3 separate regions of the Homo sapiens genome follow, and regions 1 and 2 are each linked to region 3. Evidence: promoter capture Hi-C in human tissues and cell types (Jung and others, 2019). All regions are on one chromosome and are shown on one strand. The core of a region is centred on a gene start or on the middle of the fragment in contact, and the rest is flanking DNA. Distances in the headings are between cores, read along the strand shown. Region 1 holds the start of TSR3 (TSR3 ribosome maturation factor). Region 2 holds the start of UBE2I (ubiquitin conjugating enzyme E2 I). Region 3 holds the start of HS3ST6 (heparan sulfate-glucosamine 3-sulfotransferase 6).

Region 1 (2,700 bases), core at 25-2,524, 570 kb before region 3:
GCGATCCCATTCTGCCTCTACTGCAACTCCACAGGCCGAAAACCTGAAGTGACAGTTGGGGCTGGAACCGTGGTCTGTCTGAACTGTTCCCCTGTCCGTCCCTTATGCTCCTCCTGGGGTCTGTCGGCAGGAAACATGATGCTGGGAGCATAGCAGGAACAGCAGGCCGCCGGGTCACACTGCTGTGGGGCCCCTGGACTCACCTACGATGCAGAAGGTGGCAGCAAACGCTTCCACGCAGGAAAGTCTGTAGGGCCGGCCATAGTTCACGGGGTTGGCGGCCACCAGGTAGGGCAACAGGCGCAAGTGGCTCCCTCGCATCTTCCCAAACGGTGTCTCGTCCAGCCTGGCCCAGGAGCAGTCGATGACGGCGACCCCAGACTGCGCCACCAGCTGTCTGCCAGGGACAGCATGGGATAAGTTCAGGAGCCAGCACTACCCAAGGTGGAGCATGCCCCGGAGAATGGCCTAGCTAAGGGATTCAGGGACATCATTCCGCCATCCCCAAACACCCTCAAACGGACTTCACGAGCAAGCTTTTGAGGCAGCTGCTTGGGGCACCTGGAGCATGTGTTTATTCACTCAACAAACGTTTATTACCCCAAAACCTCCTTTATCCCAGGCTCTGCGCTACGCAACGGAGGCAAACTAGACAGACGTTCCCTGCCCACGTGGGTGTGGATGTGGGTGCGACATACAAGTGCCACTAAACCATCCCTGAAGGGAACCACGCGCTGGAAATGAAGACGACCTCGGGCAGGCCTCCCGCGCCTACCTGTCTGCGGGGGACGCGTACTGCTTGCCCACGGGGCTCAGCACCAGACCGCCGAATCTGTGGCCCAGGCGCAGGCAGCGCACCAGCCCCAGGCGGGCCAGCTTGCGGCCCGTGCAGCGCCGGGGGTCGCAGTGGCCCAACTCCCACATGGCCAGCGTGCAGGGCAGCGCCGCCGGGCCCGGGCCGCCCTCGCCGTCAGCCGCCCCTGGCTCCACGGAAGCTGCACGAGAGAGAGAAGGGCACTCGGCCTCAGCGTGGGACCCCCGGGCAGGCCCTCAAACCCTGACCCGCTCTCCCCATCACGCCTCGCTCACCCTGCAGCGCGGCGCCGACCTCCTCGGCGAAGGCCTCCAGGGAGCGCGTCGGGAGGTGCCGAGGGCGGCCGCCTTCCGCCCCCGGCCCGCGCGCTGCCCTCCTGCGGCCCATGGCGCGGACCTGGGGTGCCGGGGACTCCCCACCCCACGGCCGCGCCCCTCGGCCTCCCAATGGGCTGTGCGGCTGCCAGCGCTTGCGCCGGACGCCACTTCCGGTCCCCGTGGTCACGTGACCGTCACTTCACGTGACCGCGCGGCGGCCGCTGCGGCGCGATGGCGGCGGGGCTGGCGCGGCTCCTGTTGCTCCTCGGGCTCTCGGCCGGCGGTGAGTGGCCCGGCCGTCCGCGTCCCCAGGCCCCGCGCGCGCTCTGCACCCCGGCCTCCCCGCTCACGGTCTCGCTCCCCGTAGGGCCCGCGCCGGCAGGTGCAGCGAAGATGAAGGTGGTGGAGGAGCCCAACGCGTTTGGGTGAGCAGCCTCGCGGGCTGGCGGCTCGAGCGGGGGACGGCCCGGGCCCGTTCCCCGCTGACCTTGCCGCTTCCCGTAGGGTGAACAACCCGTTCTTGCCTCAGGCCAGTCGCCTCCAGGCCAAGAGGGATCCTTCACCCGTGTCTGGTGAGTGAGGAGCGCTGTTGGCCGGCGCGGGGGTGGCCGCGGGGAGCAGCAACAGTGGAGGATGGATGAGTGACCCTGAGAGTTACGGCCCGGAGTCTAAAGCATTGGTTTGTCAGCCTTCTAAAATTAATGTGGAAGTACGAGAGAATATACCAGAACGTTCTTGTAGCGAATTAAATTATCTCCAGACTTAGTCCTTCCTTTCCTTTCCGAGAGGTAACTGCTGTTAATAGTCTGGTGACTTTGCAGACGCGTTTCTGTGCTTTTACGTGCGTGTCTATGCAACTGGAAAACGTATAGTTTTTGTAATCTAATCGCTTTTTTAAAAAATCATGCTGCGCGAGTATTTGGCTGATTTGTCGTTGTCACTCGCTGTATCTCTCGGGACGCTTCATGGTGATGATATAGGTCTTCGTTCTTTCTCTTGGTGCTCAGCACGCGATAGGATGGCACTGCACTCCCCGATTGTATTTAGGTTCTTGCCATTTTTTTGGCCATTAGAAATAGTTCTGTGGAGAACATGCTGTGTAGGTGCTTTGGTTTGCCCTCAGGTGAGCGGTTTCCCAGTGCAGGATTCCAGAAGTGGAATTGGTGGGTCATGAGTATATATATCATTTAAACGCTGAATGAGTATTAAATATAATAGACAAAAATCCAAGAATTTTTTTTTTTTTTTTTTTGAGACAAGAGTCTCGCTCTGTCGCCCAGGCTGGAGTGCAGTGGCACGATCTCGGCTCACTGCAACCTCCGCCTCCCAGGTTCAAGCGATCCTCATGCCTCAGCCTCCCGAGTAGCTGGGATCACAGGCATGCATCACCATCACGCCCAGCAAATTTTTGTATTTTTAGTAGAGATAGGGTTTATTTCACCGTATTGACCAGGCGGGTCTCGAACTCCTGACCTCAAGTGATCCGCCCATCTCGGCCTCCAAAAGTGCTGGGATTATAGGCGTGAGCCACCGCGCCCAGCTTTAGTAATTTTATTATCGAATACCTTT
Region 2 (3,067 bases), core at 510-3,009, 610 kb before region 3:
AGTGAGGGAGGGAATGAGTGAGGGAGGCAGGGAATGAATGAGGGAGGGTGGGAATGAATGAGGGAGGGAATGAATGAATGAGGGAGGGAATGAATGAATGAGGGAGGGAGGGAATGAGGGAGGGAGGGAATGAATGAATGAGGGAGGGAATGAACGAATGAGGGAGGGAATGAATGAGGGAGGAATGAGTAAGTGAGGGAGGGAATGAGTTTGTGAGAGTGGGAATGAGTGAGGGAGGGAGGGAATGAATGAATGAGAGAGGAAATGAGTGAGGGAGGGAATGAGTGAGGGAAGGAATGAATGAGTGATGGAGGGAATGAATGAATCAGTGAGGGAGGGAATCAGTGAGGGAGGGAATGAGTGAGTGAGGGAGGGAGGGAATGAATGAGAGAGGGAATGAGTGAGGGAGGGAAGGAATGAATGAGGGTGGGAATGAATGAATGAGGGCGGGAATGAATGAATGAGGGCGGGAATGAGTGAGAGTGAGAATGAGTGAGTGAGGGAGGGAATGAATGAGTGAGGGAGGGAATGAGTGAGGGAGGGAATGAGTGAGTGAGGGAGGGAATGAGTGAGGGAGGGAATGAGTGAGTGAGGGAGGGAATGAGTGAGTGGGAATGAATGAGTAAGTGAGGGAGGGAATGAGTGAGTGAGGGTGGCAATGAATGAGTAAGTGAGGGAGGGAATGCGTGAGAGAGGGAAGGAATGATTGAGTGATGGAGGGATCGAATGAATGAGGGAGGGAGGGAATTAGTGAGGGAGGGAGGGAATTAGTGAGTGAGGGAGGGAATGACGGAGTAGGGGAGGGAATGAATGAATGAGTGAGGGAGGGAATGAATGAATGTGGTCACTCCCCGCGGTCCCCAAGCACCCGGACACCGTGACCTTGGCTGCGGCCCCGCCGTCGGCGAAATGCGGGCGGGGGGGCCGGGAGAGCCCGGGGGCCAGCACGGTCGCGCGTTGGCGAACGGACTGTCCCGCGCGCTCGCGGGTCTGGGGGCCTCCCGACCCGGTCCTGCTTGTTGCGTGGGCGGGAGGGGGGACCGGAAGCGCCCCTCCCCCACGGGCTCGCCCCGCCCCCGCCGCTCGCGGTCCCCCACGTCCCGCCCGCGCCCCGGCCCAGGGCCAGCCCCCGGTTTAGGGAGCATCCACACTTCTCCTCCCGTCGGTCATGCTCGCATTCGGCCTTTTGTACGGGGTCAGCTCATTGGGCGGATGAGAAGGTGTCCCCGCCTACCGCCCCGAACTGGCCAATTGCAAGGGGTTTCACAGGGCGCTGAACTCGCGGGAGCGTCACCGTCCTGCGACGCTTCAGAGGATCCTTAGGCCTCAGTGGTCTTTGACCCCCGGCCCCAGGACCTGACCCCAAGGAAACCTCCGGGACCTGTGGCTGGAGAGGTGACCGCCAGGCATCCGGGGAGCCTTTGGAGATCTCGGCTTCCTTTTTCCCCCGCTGCTTGCCGGCGTGTCCTCGGGTGGACGCGGGCAGCCCGAAGGGGAGTTTACAGACGCTCCCTCACATCGGGGACGCGGCTCCTTTAAGGGCGTAGGTGTCCAGGGCGCCGCCTGACTGGAAAGTCGCCCCCCGGCCGGGCTCCTGGGGCGGACCCGGGGCGCGGGCGCGCGGCGGCGGGGCGCGGGCAACGGGGAGCGCTCGGCGGCGCGGGAGGCGCTCGGGGCCGGGCGGCAGGAGCGGCGCGCGAGGCAGGCGTGCAGAGGGCAGCCCCGCGTTAGGCCCCGCCCCGCGCGCCCCGCCCGCGCCAGGGTCCTCGGAGCTGCTCTGGCTGCGCGCGGAGCGGGCTCCGGAGGGAAGTCCCGAGACAAAGGGAAGCGCCGCCGCCGCCGCCCCGCTCGGTCCTCCACCTGTCCGCTACGCTCGCCGGGGCTGCGGCCGCCCGAGGTGAGCGCGTGCGGGGGCCGGGCCGGGGCCGCGGGGCGGGGGTCGGGCCGAGGCCTCTACTCCTGTTGGGCCCGGGCCCCCGACTGCCCCGCGCCCCGCCCCGCCGAGCCGGGCCCCGCGCCGCGGCCGAGCTTTCCGGGGAGCCCGAGAGGCCCCGCGCTCGGCGCCGGCTCGGTCCGCGCTGCTGGCGCCGCTGGGCTGCGGCCCGAGCGGCCGGGCCGCCGCAGGCCTTCGGGGCCGGGGCTCCCCCACTTCGCCCCCGAGGTGCGCCTGGCGCGGGGCCGGGGCAGCCACCTGCAGCCGGGGCCCCGCGAGGCCGCGCCTTCCTCCTGCGCGGGGAGCGGCTTCCGGGGTCACGGTCGCCCCGCGGACGGATAGGATGGGCCGCGGGGGGAGAGTCTTGGATTGCAACATCGCTGGCTCGCGGGGGTGGGGGCCGGCGAGCGGGCTTGTTTTCGGTGCCTTAAAACCAAAACAAGTGTAAGTTTTCTTGTGCCTCTGAAGATGCTCCGCTGGCGCTTGCTGGGGCCCTGAACGTGAGCGCCTCGCTGGAGGGGGAGTTTTATTCTGTTTTGGACATCTCTTTTTATCGGTTGAATAGTAGTTGGTTCTGGTAGTTAACGTGCGTAGGAGGAATGTAAGGGAATGATTAGTTGGGCTTGTGATCGTGGCCTGTAGTCACGCTTGAATCGCAGAATGAAGTGGTTTTGTTTGTATAATTGGAAGTTACGCTTAGTTTCTCTGTTTGCAAAGTGCCTGTCTTTGGGGAGTTCGGTTTGTTTCCTTTTACAGGACCTACCCCAAGTGTTTCTTGCTCTTCAAGAAACGTTGCCTTTGGGTAGAGAACCTATGCAACGGAAGACGGGACGGATCCTCAGTTTGCCCTGATTGCTCATTCAGAGAGGTCCGTTCCCTAGGCCACTGGGTGATTGCTGGTGTGCGCTTGTATGGTGTCTCAGGGTTTGGGATCTTGCTTCAGAAACATTCTCGGGGCCTGGGGCAGATCAGGTGCGGCCAGGTAAGCGTCTCCCGACTGCAGGTGCTTGGGTCTTGCAGAAGGGAATACCTCCCCAAGCCTGGGAGAGTTTGCATTTGGGTGCAGGAGGGCCTTTAAAGGCTTCTTGTGCCAGCCTGTCGTGGCGACCACCCGTTGTGGAGATCAGTGCGGTG
Region 3 (2,983 bases), core at 225-2,724:
GTCCCCTAGCCACCACCTGACTTCCCCAGCACCCCACACTGGCACCAGCCCTTCAGATCTCAGAAGCGAGCCACCCTATTCTCACGGAGCCCCTTCCTGCCTGCCCTCCAAACCCAAGAGTAGTTTTAGTACAAAAGGCAAAGTTAACAAATAGGGGTAGGCGTCAGGGAAGGAAGAGGATCAGAGGATCGGGAACGGAGAAACTGGAGCACCTGGAGAAGCGTCTGGGTCCTGCCACCCCCACTGACTCCCCAACTGGCCTTGGGCAGGGTCCTCTCTGCAGGCGCTGGGTCCAAGCTTGGGGATGAGCAGCCACCAGCGCGGGCTGCTTCAGCTGAGGCTGCCGCACCCCCACGTCCATCCTGGGTAGAGGCAGGACAGCCACAGAGCCCCATGCACGGGGCTGGACTCACCCTGGGCACTCACCTAAAGGCAGTCTCCTCCTTTCCAAAGCCCAGACTTTCTCCGGACTCCCAGGACCACCAACAAGGGTTCCTGTGCGCAGACTCGGGGGTCTTGGGGAGGAAGGACGCTTTCTAGGTGGCTGCCTGGAACCTGGAGGCCCCTTTCTACAGTACCTGGCCAGCGGTCGGTCACACCTGAGTGCCCAGAGTGAGCGGGCGGCAGAGGCATTTCTGACGCTGCCAGGTAATCCCACGGGCTGGAAACGACCTCTGGGCTGGGAAGCCACCGCCTCCCCCAGTCCTGCTGGGTCCCTCAGCAGAGAGAACGGAACCGGGGCTTTCCCCACAGTTTTCAAAGTTTCAGGGAATCCTAGCCAAGTATCATTCCTTCTTCCGGAGCCGGGACCCCAGGTCAAGCCTGGGGCCCCCACAGGGCGGTCCCAACCCCACTGCCCGGAGCGCACCCCTGCTCCCTGGGAGGCAGGATATCGTGCCGCTGCTCCCTGGGGCGCACGATACCCTCCCCAGGAAGGCGCCGGTCAGGGCGGACGGGCCAGGGTGCTCACCGGTACCAGGCGAGGCCGCGCTCGTAGCACCTGTCGAAGAAGTGGGGCTCAGAGCCCAGCGCGCGGACGTCGGGGTGCAGCCGCAGAAACTCCAGCAGGGCGCGCGTGCCGCCCTTCTTCACGCCAACGATGAGCGCTTGCGGGAAGCGCCGGCGGCCGGGACCGCTGGCCAAAGGCAGGCCGGGTGCTCCCGGGCGGTGGACGGAGCTGGACGGCTCGGAGGGCGCGGGGGCCGGCGCGGGGGCGCGGGCGGCCGGCGGGCAGCGGCCGGGGAGGGCGCAGAGGCAGTAGGCGCCGAGCACCAGGGCCACGAGCAGCATCGGCGCGCGGGACGCCCGCAGAGCGGCCCCTTGCCCGGCCCCTGCGCCCTGGCCGCCCCCGGCCCCGCCGCCCAGGCCGCCGCTACCTGCCATGGGGTCGCGCCGCTCCAGGCCCGGGAGCGGGGGCAGCAGGCGGGCGCGCATCTCGGCCCGCGCGCCGCTCAGTCCGTGGGTGCCCGGCTTGTGCTCTGCGCCCGGCGGTCCCGCAGCCTGGGAGCGGGCGCGGGGCGGGACCGGGGGCGGGGTCTGGACGCCCTCCCCCCTCCCCCTCCCCCGCCCACTCCGCCTCCGAGGCCACTGCCTGGGCTGGACCCGCCGGCAGCCGCCACCACCCGGGCGCGACTCGAGCTGCCGGGACCACCAGGACGCTCCTGCTCCGAGATCCCAGGCCCTGGCTCGCTTGACTCCGGCATCTTCACCTCTGCGCGGGGAGGATGCGGCGGCGGTGGCCGTTCGGGACGCAGGGCAGGGACAGGGCGGCGCGCGGGCCTCGGGACCCTCTGTTTGAAGACCGATCCCCTTCCCCCCCCACCCCACTCCGGGACGTGCGCGGCAGGTGCATAGGCCAAGCCTTGGCCTGCAGGAGCGGGAGCCTCATCGCCAGGCCAAGGGGACCCAGGAAAAGCGTCGATCCGGGCACTCGGCCTGCCAAGGGAGAAAGAGGCCGGGACAGCACCCTAGTGTGCAGAGAGGGATCCCAGAACGTGTGGGGGGAGTCTGCGGCCGGGAATGGCGTGCGTCCTGCACTCCCAGCTGACAGTCACACATCGGGTCACAGCCTGGCCGCTGAGAGGTCAAGTCACCTCTGGTTACTGTTTTAGAATGGAGGGGACAGGCTCAGAGAAAATAGGTTTCCCTCCCAGGGGCCCAGTGGTGAACTGAATTCAGGCCTGAGACATACTCTGTCTACTAAGTCACCCCATCTGCCCAGCCTTGGTCCACCTGGCACTGCCCAGAGACATCAGTGATGCATTTCGGAAGCTGGCAAAGTGGACCCCACTGGAGTACAAAGGACTCAGGGACCCCTGTGCTGGGGAAGAGAAGGAGCCCAGGACCTCCCCCAGGGGCTGCCTCTGAGGGGCGTGAGATTCAGGGGCCTCTCGGGTGGGACCTGCGGGGGCCGCTAGACACTGCGGGAACTTCACATCCCCAACGCCCAGCAGCAGCCTGCAGGGAAGGCAGGGGAGGCGAGCCGGGCTCAGAGAGGGCGAGCAACTTGCCCCATCCGAAGGCAAAGGTGGTATGAGACCCGGGTCCTCTCTCCACCTCTGCCCCAGCCTTCCTGGCCACAGGGCTGGCGCCAGGCAGGCACGGCACAGGCTCCCGGCAGAGGCCCAGCCTCTTCCCAGCCAAGGGCTTGCGGCCCCTGTCCTGGGCTCTGCTGCGTTAATGAGCCGTTCCAGCCCTGATGGCATCTGGACAAGTCCCAGCAGCCGGGCTGCCTCAAGGGGCCGAAGGCCTCCACGACCCACAGACATTCCGGAGCTCCTACCCAGCAGCAGCCCTGGCCAGAGGGGGCCACACGGGGCTGACGGGGTGAAGACCACTGACCAGTCCCCCAGCCCCGGCTCCAGACATGCGGGCTGCACCTGCTCATCTGGGCAAGCCTCTGCAGGAGCCCCGTGGGCAGGCAGCGGGCACAATGCGAGGAGAGCATGCTGGCTTATGCTGGGTCACAGGAAATTCTTCTTCT

Evidence for each region. Contacts are between HindIII fragments. The study calls those that stand out against the background at their distance.
Region 1: a contact is called between the fragment with the promoter of TSR3 here and the fragment with the promoter of HS3ST6 in region 3, in 1 of the 25 tissues and cell types used here (spleen).
Region 2: a contact is called between the fragment with the promoter of UBE2I here and the fragment with the promoter of HS3ST6 in region 3, in 1 of the 25 tissues and cell types used here (dorsolateral prefrontal cortex).

The regions. Positions count from the first base shown.
Region 1 is chr16:1,350,604-1,353,303 of GRCh38, forward strand. TSR3 (TSR3 ribosome maturation factor) reads right to left here and starts at 1,275. Exons shown (of 6, transcript NM_001001410.3): 1 at 1,090-1,275; 2 at 776-995; 3 at 204-397. The coding sequence starts at 1,201. GNPTG (N-acetylglucosamine-1-phosphate transferase subunit gamma) reads left to right here and starts at 1,328. Exons shown (of 11, transcript NM_032520.5): 1 at 1,328-1,414; 2 at 1,499-1,556; 3 at 1,636-1,703. The coding sequence starts at 1,363. RefSeq lists a silencer at 853-1,552. The HindIII fragment of the contact is 21,021 bases long and covers 1-2,700 here.
Region 2 is chr16:1,307,877-1,310,943 of GRCh38, forward strand. UBE2I (ubiquitin conjugating enzyme E2 I) reads left to right here and starts at 1,760. Exons shown (of 7, transcript NM_003345.5): 1 at 1,760-1,897. RefSeq lists silencers at 829-1,118, 1,609-1,908, 2,109-2,298 and enhancers at 1,329-1,568, 2,270-2,881. The HindIII fragment of the contact is 23,762 bases long and covers 1-3,067 here.
Region 3 is chr16:1,916,941-1,919,923 of GRCh38, forward strand. It overlaps HS3ST6 (heparan sulfate-glucosamine 3-sulfotransferase 6), which reads right to left and starts at 1,475. Exons shown (of 2, transcript NM_001009606.4): 1 at 971-1,475. The coding sequence starts at 1,383. RefSeq lists enhancers at 1,568-2,129, 2,130-2,693, 2,694-2,983. The HindIII fragment of the contact is 13,256 bases long and covers 1-2,983 here.